3 separate regions of the Homo sapiens genome follow, and all the other regions are linked to region 2. Evidence: promoter capture Hi-C in human tissues and cell types (Jung and others, 2019). All regions are on one chromosome and are shown on one strand. The core of a region is centred on a gene start or on the middle of the fragment in contact, and the rest is flanking DNA. Distances in the headings are between cores, read along the strand shown.

What was found. Contacts are between HindIII fragments. The study calls those that stand out against the background at their distance.
Region 1: the fragment with the promoter of DCAF15 here is called in contact with the fragment with the promoter of PKN1 in region 2 in 2 of the 25 tissues and cell types used here (lymphoblastoid cells and spleen).
Region 3: a fragment that was not itself captured here is called in contact with the fragment with the promoter of PKN1 in region 2 in 2 of the 25 tissues and cell types used here (dorsolateral prefrontal cortex and lymphoblastoid cells).

What each region holds. Positions count from the first base shown.
Region 1 is chr19:13,950,723-13,953,907 of GRCh38, reverse strand. It overlaps DCAF15 (DDB1 and CUL4 associated factor 15), which reads right to left and starts at 1,399. Exons shown (of 13, transcript NM_138353.4): 1 at 1,264-1,399. The coding sequence starts at 1,395. It also overlaps a transcript of PODNL1 not described here. RefSeq lists a silencer at 1,177-1,316 and an enhancer at 1,977-2,026. The HindIII fragment of the contact is 40,615 bases long and covers 1-3,185 here.
Region 2 is chr19:14,431,460-14,434,790 of GRCh38, reverse strand. PKN1 (protein kinase N1) reads right to left here and starts at 1,485. Exons shown (of 22, transcript NM_002741.5): 1 at 1,249-1,485. The coding sequence starts at 1,269. RefSeq lists silencers at 756-865, 1,156-1,225, 1,396-1,735 and enhancers at 445-1,017, 1,018-1,591, 2,466-2,745. The HindIII fragment of the contact is 61,187 bases long and covers 1-3,331 here.
Region 3 is chr19:14,129,257-14,132,365 of GRCh38, reverse strand. All of the region lies in intron 1 of ASF1B (anti-silencing function 1B histone chaperone), which reads left to right. Among named protein-coding and RNA genes, the nearest start is that of ASF1B, 5.8 kb to the left of the region's middle. The HindIII fragment of the contact is 8,412 bases long and covers 1-3,109 here.

The sequences.
Region 1 (3,185 bases), core at 150-2,649, 480 kb after region 2:
GCCTTCAAACAAGGGGGCTCCTCCTCCCCGGGGCAGCTCTGGCCTCTGCTGGGGGCCAGTCGAGGCAGATAGAAGGGTGAGCCTAACCAATGACCCAACGCCCCCTTCCCAATTAACTACCGCCTTCCAACGGAATCCAAGGGAATCCCTCATCCCCAAAACTTCACCGCGGAAGGATCTGCGGGGACTGACAGGCAGAAGCCAGGCACAGGGATATCCGAACAGCCTCAGTCTTGCTACCCAACTCTGCCTTCAAGACATTCCAATCTGATGGGAAGAGTCCTGTCTGGGAAGCTCCCTGTCTGATGGGAGACAGCCCTGTCCACATGGAGGTCTCAGTCTGACGGAGGAAACAGCCTGGCCAGCCAGGCCCAGGCCGACAGGGGAGACACAGTCCCTGCCCAAGGAGCTTCCAAGCTAAGGGCGGAACCACAGCCAAGCCCAGGGAGCTCCCAGGCTAAGGGCGGAGACTGTCCCAGCCCAGGGAGCTCCCAGTCAAAAGGGGGAGACACAGCACTGCCCTTACAAAGCTACCAGCCTCACGGAGAAGGCGCAGTCCCTGTCCACAGAGACACAGCCTTGCCCCAGTTACTGCCCACCTGCAAGAGATCCACATTTCTGCCCTCCAGAGCTCCCAAACTGATGGGGGAGAGAGACATCATCCCCCAGCTCTGGGAGTTTCCAGTCTGATGGAGGAGACAGAGCCTGCTTCGGTAACTCTCACTCTGCGGGGGAAGACTCAGCCCTATCCAGGGAGCTCCCACACTTTCAATGGGGAGGCCCACCCAGGTACTGGAACTCCCAGCTCATGTGTGGTCGGGGCTTGGGCAGGGAGAGGAACATCAGGCGGAGGAAGCCCAAAGCCAGCGGCAGGGGCTCTGCAAAGGGGGCGGGAAGGTTCCATTATGGAGCAACCATGGGAGCAGAGCTTTGAAAAGCCTGGATCGCCCCCTTCCTCCTGATTCTCCCTGCGGCCTCTGGGGTCGCCTCCCTCCGAGCCCCCTCCCTGGGGCCCCGCCCCCAACCCCCTCCATCCCAGCCCCTTTGCCGGTCACCCGACACAACCACCTGCATCCAGGCCCCCAACTGAGCCCCCTCCATCCAAGCCATCTCCCCCGGGCCCCGCCCAGGCCCTGCATCCGAGCCCCCTCCCCTGGGGCCCCGCCCCCAACCCCTCACCCCGCGAACGCCCTCCTCCCTCCGCCTCCCTCGTCCCTACTCCCCACCCTCCGGCGCGCTCCCCACTCCGGCTCCAGGCCTCACCTTGACCCGCTCCAGCTGCTTGAGGACGTGCTCCCGCCGCCGCCCTGCTGCCCGCTTCCCTCCGGCTCCCCCGGGGCCGCCGCCGCCGCTCCCAGCCCCGCTGTTCCGCTCCGATTTCGAGCTGGGCGCCATTTTCACCCCCTCCCTCCACTTCCGGAGCAACCGGCCCCTTCGCCCCACCCCTGCCGCCTCCTCATTGGTCCTTTTTCGGGACAGCGGCCCGCCGGTTGGGCGAAAGCCCGCACTCGCGCTATGCCTGTCCATCAAAGCCATCTCGACTCTTGATTGGTAGCGACAGTAACAGCCCCCGCGGCCCGTTGCCGTATTCCCGCCCCGCCTTAAGGACGTACCACTCGGAGGTCCCGTTTGTTCGCCCTGCCCAGATAACTTTGATCTGATAGGTGAATATCTCTGTCTGTCTCAACGGCGTCACGCCCCCTGTGGCTGGCGGGTTTCCATGGAGACCACAGGCGGTCCAGGCCCTTGGGCGGGGCGACGGGAGCCTGTGGTCCACCAAGGCTCGAGAATCCTCAGCCCCGGGCTGCCCGCGCCCGGTCCAGGTGGGCAAAGGCCTGACGAGCATACTTGGGCGGCAGAGCCAGGCCGAGGAAAGAGATTTACAAAAAAGGAAAAAACGATGGGATTCGATGAAAGCTTGTTTCCGATGGGCGGGTTGGTGGGATGATGGTGGTGATAATGATAGCATCAATCATGGATCGCTCCACATGTGACAGACACGGTTCTGAGCTTAAACAGTTCGATGTGGCAGGGCCCTGTTGTGCCAATTATGCAGATCATAGCAATAAAAATAATTGTTGAAGGTCCGCTCCGTGCATCATATTCGTATACATTACCTCATTTATTTTATTTTTTTAGACAGAGTCTCACTTTGTCACCCAGGCTGGAGTGCAGTGGCGTGATCACGGTTCACTGCAGCCTCGACCCCGGGCTCAGATGATCCTCTCACCTCAGCCTCTCATGTAGCTAGGACTACAGGCGTGCGCCACCACGCCTGCCTAATTTTTTGTATTTTTAGTAGAGACGAGGTTTCACTATGTTGGCCAGGCTGGTTGCGAACTCCTGACCTCAGGTGATCCGCCCGCCTAGGCCTCCCAAAGTGCTGGAATTACGGGCATAAGCCACCGCGCCCGGCCTAATTTTTTGTATTTTTTGTAGGGACGGAGTTTCACCAAGTTGTCCAGGCTGGTCTCCAACACCTGGGCTCAAGTGATCCTCCCACCTCTGCTTCCCAAAGTGTTGGGAGGACAGGTGTGAGCCCCCACCCCTGGCCAGCCCATTTAATCCTCTGAACAATCTAGAAGATAGTTTTTTTTTATTGTCTTCATTAAAAAAATTTTTTTTGTAGAGATGGGGTCTCACTATGTTGCCCAGGCTGCTCGAAAACTCCTGACCTCAAGGGATCATCCCGTCTTGGCCTCCCAAAGTGCTGGGATTACAGGCATAAACCACTGTGCCCAGCTGATTTCAAGGGTTTTAGGAGTTATGTACTAGAAAACCTAAGACCAAAATATGGTTTTTTAAAAATATATCACAACACAATATCACAACATATCTTTTTTTTTTTTTTTTTTTTTGAGATGGAGTTTTGCTCTTGTTGCCCAGGCTGGAGTGCAATGGCACAATCTCAACTCACTGCACCCTTCACCTCCCGGGTTCAAGCAAACGATTCTCCTGCCTCAGCCTCCCAAGTAGCTGGGATTACAGGCATGTGCCACCATGCCCGGCTAATCTTTGTATTTTTAGTAGAGACAGGGTTTCACTATGTTGGCTAGGCTGGTCTCAAACTCCTGACCTCAAGTGATCCACCCACCTCACCCTCCCAAAGTGCTGAGATTACAGGCGTGAGCCACTGCGCCCGGCCATCACAATGTATCTTTAGCCAAAGGTTCCCCTGCTTCTTG
Region 2 (3,331 bases), core at 236-2,735:
TGCAGGAATCACAGCCTGTCTGGGTCATGTGTGGGATGCGCCAAGCGCATGCATGCACCCGGGGATTCCTACACAGCCCTCCCTGGGCCGGGGGTAGAGGCAGGGACCCCGGCCCATCCCGGCCTTGAGGTCTGACCTTGTGTGATCGGCAACACCAGATACGCCCAGCTCCTCGGCAAGGCCGGCAGGCCATCAGCAGGACTGGGAAGGCGGGAGGGACCGGGGGTTACCGGGGAGACACAAAGGGGCCGGGGGCAGGTGCAGAAGGAGACGAGAACCCAGTTACACAACAACCACAGGACAATGAACTGGATGGTGAGGTGCTAATGGGGACACTGAGGCACAGACATTTCTCAGATTTGGGTCACTTGAACCAAAGAAGGTTGGCAGTCACCCTGGCCGTGCTTGTCACAGACGGGGAAGATGAGTCCAGGTCAGTGATCCCCACCAGGTGGCACAAGGGGAATCTGGCTGGGCGGGAGGCTGGTGCCAGTCACGTGTGTGTGTTAGCAGGGTGGGGGTGACCCAGCCATGCCCAGCCACCATGCAAAAAAGTAGGATTCTATATATGGGAGCATCCCTGGCCTGTTGACTGAGACACTCCCCACCCAGGAGAAGGTTCCACCTGACAGCCCAAGGGTGGGAGTGGGGGTCCCCATTCCCCCGACCTAATGCAGTGACTCGGGTACTTCCGCCAACAGGTGCCAATCTGGGTGGCGTCTGGAACATCATAAAGCTGTCTAGAGGCGGGGGTGGCTGGAGCTTTGTTATGCGGGGGAAGGGCACGGGCCGGGCCCAGCAGCCTCCTCCCCTCCCAGGGCACTGCGCCAGGCACGTGCCCCAGGTGGAGCGGCACCTGCCGGGTACCCAACCCTGGGGAGGGGGATGAGTTTGGGGGCGGACGAGAGGCACTGGGACGCCCAGCCAGCCACAGACACCCGAAGTAGAGCCTCCGCCGCGCCCCTTCTAGTTCTCCAGGAGAGGCCGAGTTTGAGGGTGTAGCAGGGGTTGCCTCCGGGATCGCCCCCAAACCAGCCCAGTCCACATCGCCACCTGCCGAGAAGGGGGCCTCGCTGGCTCCACAGTCCCGGCCCAGGGAGGGGGCGCCGGGCGCTCCGGAGGCCCCCGCCCTTGCCATCGTCACCCGAGTCCCGTTCCGGGGGCTGGGGGGGCTCCCCCGGCAGCGCGCGGGCGGGGTCCGCCGGCGCCGTCCGGTCGCCCCGGGACTCCAGACGCAGGTGCGCCTACCTGCACGGCGTCGCTGGCCATGTCCTCCTGCCGCCCGCCAGGGGTCCCCGCGCGGAGGGAGGGGCGGCCAGAGGAGCGCGCGTGCGCCCCGGGCGTGGCGGGGAGGGGGCGGGCGCGGCGCGACCCTCCCCGGCGCGCGGCCCGCTCCGGCCTGCTCGGCTCCCGCCTCGCCTGGCCAGGCCGCCGCGTCCCCGCGCCGCGCCCTCCGGCCCCAGCGGCCGCCGGGCCTGGTCACGTGACCCCGGAGGTCGGCGCCCGGGGAGGGGGCGGGGCCGAGGGGGGACGGGTTCCCAGAGGCCCCCGGGGCTGCGGGGTCCCGCCCGTCCGCCCCCTCGGTCTCCCGAGCCCGGAGCATCCCCATCGGCTCCCCACCTTTCCTCTTTCCGGGTCCCGAGACGACCGCACGCTGCCGAGGGGTCCCCCATTGGAGCGCGCGGGAACCCGAGGAGAACGGTTCCACGCGTTCAAGCCGAGAGCGGCGGAGGCCTTTGGGCCTCCCGGGACCCCTGAAAAAAACAAACAGAATAACCCCCCACCCCACCCTACCCCGGTGCATTTGCAAGCTCGGGACGCCTGCATCTGTGGTCCCCTATTCAAGGGCATGGAAGTTTCCCCGTTACCTGGAGACAAGCTCTGGGCGGATCTGCATTCAAATCCTAGCGCTTTACGCCTTGAGGGAGACAAACCCTTCCAGGCACCTCATCTGTGAAATGGGAATGATGCGCTCACCTCCTCGGTGTTGGTAAAATTCAATAAGACAGTGCAGGCCAAGAGCTGAGAACACACTAGACGCTCCATAAGTGTTAGCTGCTGTCACTTTTAATGTTATCGTAATTGTTTGTTTGTTGTTTTGCTATTTTTGGACGGAGTTTCGCTCTGTTGCCCATGCTGGAGTGCAGTGGCGCGATCTCGGCTCACTGCAACCTCCGCCTCCCGGATTCAAGTGATTCTTCTGCCTCAGCCTCCTGAGTAGCTGGGATTACAGGTGCCCACCACCATACCCGGCTAATTTTTGTATTTTTAGTAGAGACGGGGTTTCATCATATTGGCCAGGCTGGCCTCGAACTCCTGATCTCAGGTGATCCGCCCGCCTCGGTCTCCTAAAGTGCTGAGATTACACAGGCCTGAGCCACCGCGCCCAGCCTCTATTATCGTTATTGTTATTAAAAGAGGTTTGAATCCCAACTTGCTGTTCATCCTGGGGACCCCTGTGGCCTCTGAGTCTCAGTTTTCCCCGCTATAAAATGGGCATCGCCTTCTTTTTCGGGGCTGCTGCATGCAGATGGCGCTCCATAAATGCAGACTCGTGCCCAAGCGGAGAGTGGAGGCCTCTGCGGAATTTCTAGGGGATCTCCGGGGTCTGCAGAGCGTGCAGCTTTGTTCGTGGCCGCCGTCGGACCCTCACTCCTTCGGAAACCAGGCGAGGGAGCCAAACCTTGGTCTCCGGGGCTCCGGCAGGGAGCGCTCCCTGGCGGCGGTGCCTGCACATTGGCGCCCTTTGGGACCCGAGGAAGCGCCGTGGGCTGCGGGTACCTTGGTTACCCGTGGCTCTGCGTGGTTTCAGTCGTCCCAGAAACCAGGGCGCGATGTTTTCTCTCTTATTTTTTCCTCTGAGCAACTCTTTGGGAGATACTAACAACAGAAAGAGAGAAGGAGGAGAATTATGCTGATCCAGAACCCATCCAGCCGGGCATGGTGGCGCACGCCTGTAGTCCCAGCTACCAGGAGGCTGAGGCGGGAGGATCGCTTGAGCTCAAGAGGCCGAGAATGCATCACTGTGGGGAGAAATCATGATGCCCCTGCACTCCAGCCTGGGTGACAGAGCGAGACCCTGTCTAAAAAAAGAAAGAAAAAAAAAAACGGCTGGGTGCAGTGGCTCACCCCTGTAATCCCAGCCCTTTAGGAAGCCAAGGTGGGTGGTGGATGGATCACTGGAGGTCAGGAGTTCGAGACCAGCCTAGCCAATATGGTGAAACCCATCTCTGCTAAAAAATATAAAATTAGCTGAACGTGGTGGCGCATGCCTGTAATCCCAGCTACTCGGGTGGCTGAGGCAGGAGAATAGCTTGAACCCAAGAGGCGG
Region 3 (3,109 bases), core at 587-3,086, 300 kb after region 2:
AGCAGCGTCAACTGAAAATCTGACAAAACCCCCAACCCAGCTGTGTGAGGTGGCTCATGCCTGTAATTCCAGCACTTTGGGAGGCTAAGGAAGGAGGATCTCTTGAGCCCAGGAATTTGGGCCAGCCTGGGTAACATAGCAAAACCTTGTCTCTACAGAAACATCAAAAAATTAACGGGACTTGGTGGCACGTGTCTGTGGTCCCAGCTACTCAGGAGGCTGAAGTGGGAGGATTGCATGAGCCCAGGAGGTCAGGGCTGCAGTGAGCCATGATTGCACCACTGCACTCCAACCTGGGTGAGAGAGCAAGACCCCCATCTCAAAAAAAAAAAAAAAAAAAACCACCCTAACCCCTAAGCCCCAGTTGGGTGACCCCTATTTCTCAGGGGCCCCAAGCCCCCTTTGCACTTTTATCTTCCACATCTGGAAATAGATTCTTCCACATTTAGCTGAGAAATTCAACAGACACTGGTTGAATAAGTCATAGAAGCCAGATGTTCTGACCCAGAAATAACGAAGTTGTTATGGCAGCAGAGCTCATCTTTGATTATGAACAAAGGCAAAAAGCAAACAAACAAAGGAGGCCTGGCATGGTGGCTCACGCCTGTAATCCCAGCACTTTGGGAGACCAAGGCGGGCAGATTACCTGAGGTCAGAAGTTCGAGACCAGCCTGGCCAACATGGTGAAACCCCGTCTCTACTAAAAATACAAAAAATTAGCCGGGTGTGGTGGCGGGCGCCTGTAGTCCCAGCTACTCGGGAGGCTGAGGCAGGAGAATGGCGTGAACCCAGGAGGCAGAGCTTGCAGCGAGCCGAGATTGCACCACTGCACCCCAACCTGGGCAACAAAGCAAGACTCCATCTCAAAAAAAAAAAAAAAGAAAAAGCCAGGTGTGGTGGCTCACACCTGTAATCCCAGCACTTTGGGAGGCCGAGGCGGATGGATCACAAGGTCAGGAGTTCGAGACCAGCCTAACCGACGTGGTGAAACCCCGGCTCTACTAAATACAAAAATTAGCCAGGCATGGTGGCACGCAGCTATAATCCCAGCTACTCAGGAGGCTGAGGCAGAAGAATCGCTAGAACCCGGGAGGCAGAGGTTGCAGTGAGCTGAGATTGTGCCACTGCACTCCAACCTGGGTGACAGAGCGAGACTCTGTTTCAAAAAAAAAAAAAGAAAAAAAAAATGGCCAGGCACAGTGGCTTACCCCTGTAATCCCAGCATTTTGGGAGACCAAGGCAGGTGGATCATCTGAGGTCAGGAGTTTGAGACCAGCCTGGCCAATGTGGTGAAACCCTGTCTCTACTAAAAATACAAAAGTTAGCCAGGCTTGGTGGCAGGTGCCTGTAGTCCCAGCTATTTGGGAGGCTGAGGCAGGAGAAGCGCTTGAACCCGGGAGATGGAAATTGCAGTGAGCCCAGATTGCGCCATTGCACTCCAGCCTGGGCGACAGAGCAAGACTGTCTCAAAAAAACAACAACAAAAAAGCAGGAAGCAGACTTTTTAGCTAGTTCAGCTATACTAATTGTGTACATGTCTTTAGTCTTATCATTTATATATATATATATATATATATACACACAAACACACAGTGGAGGTATGTCTTGCACAGGGACTAGCTTGTGAAGTTAGCGCAGAGAGATAACATGGGACACAGTTGAGTTGCCTTGACATTGCTCAGAAGGTTAGGTACACACGTCATGTGTACAGCTGTGTCCTGTACTCATAGCTATGAGTTCCTGCTGTATTGGTGATTTGTGTCCCATGTATAATTCTAAAGAAAGATTATATTTAGAGATGAAATCATACACGTATGTCTCTACTTATAACACTGCAGCCAGATTTTTTTTTTTTTTTTTAAAGAGATAGGGTGTCACTATGTTGCCCAGACTGGACTTGAACTCCTGGGCTTAAGCAGTCCTCCCACCTCAGCTTCCTAAGTAGCTGGAACCACAGGTGCACATCACCATGCCTGGGCACTTCAGCAAATTTAAGATGATTCTCGACTGGGCATAGTGGCTCATGCCTGTAATCCCAGCACTTTGGGAGGCCAAGGCAGGCGGATCACAAGGTCAGGAGATCGAGACCATCTTGGCTAACACAGTGAAACCCCGTCTCTACTAAAAATAGAAAAAAAAATTAGCCGGGCGTGGTGGGGGGTGCCTGTAGTCCCAGCTGATTAGGAGGCTGAGGCACAAGAATGGCATGAACCCGGGAGGCGGAGCTTGCAGTGAGCCGAGATCGTGCCACTGCACTCTAGTCTGGGCAACAGAGTGAGACTCCATGTCAAAATAAAATAAAATAAATTAGAATTACAGGTGCACACCACCACGCCCAGCTAATTTTTTATATTTTTAGTAGAGATGGAGTCTCACTCTGTCACCCAGGCTGGAGTGCAGAGGCACGATCTCAGTTCACTGCAACCTCAGCCTCCCGAGTAGCTGAGACTACAGGGGCATGCCACCACGCCTGGCTAATTTTTTGTATTTTTTGTATCACCATGTTGCCCAGGCTGATCTCGAACTTCTGAGCTCAAGCAATCCACCCGCCTCAGCCTCCCAAAGTGCTAGGATTACAGCCATGATCCAATGATCCACCTCACCTGGCCCTATACCTATAACTCTTTTTTTCTTCCTTTCTTTCCTTCTTTCTTCTTTTTTTTTTTTTTTTTTTTTTTTTTTTTTTTGACGGAGGCTGGCTCTGTTGCCCAGGCTGGAGTGCAGTGGCAAAATCTCGGCTCACTGCAATCTCTGCTGCCTCCCAGGTTCAAGCAGTTCTTATGCCTCAGACTCCTGAGTAGCTGGAATTACAGGTGCACACCATCATGCCCAGCTAAATTTTTATATTTTTAGTAGAGATGGGGTTTCACCATGTTGCCCAGGTTGGTCTCGAACTCGTGAGCTCAGGCAATCTGCCTGCCTCGGCCTCCCAAAGTGCTAGGATTACAGGTGTGAGCTGCCGTGCCCAACCAGCTTCTGTAACTCTTGAGTCAGTATTTCTCTACAGCCGTTAGTTAATTCTCCAGTTTCTTTCCAGCCCTGGTTGAAAGAGCCATTTCAGCCCCTGTGCCTGACAGTCAACACAGTACATTTTTTCTTTTTCTTTTTT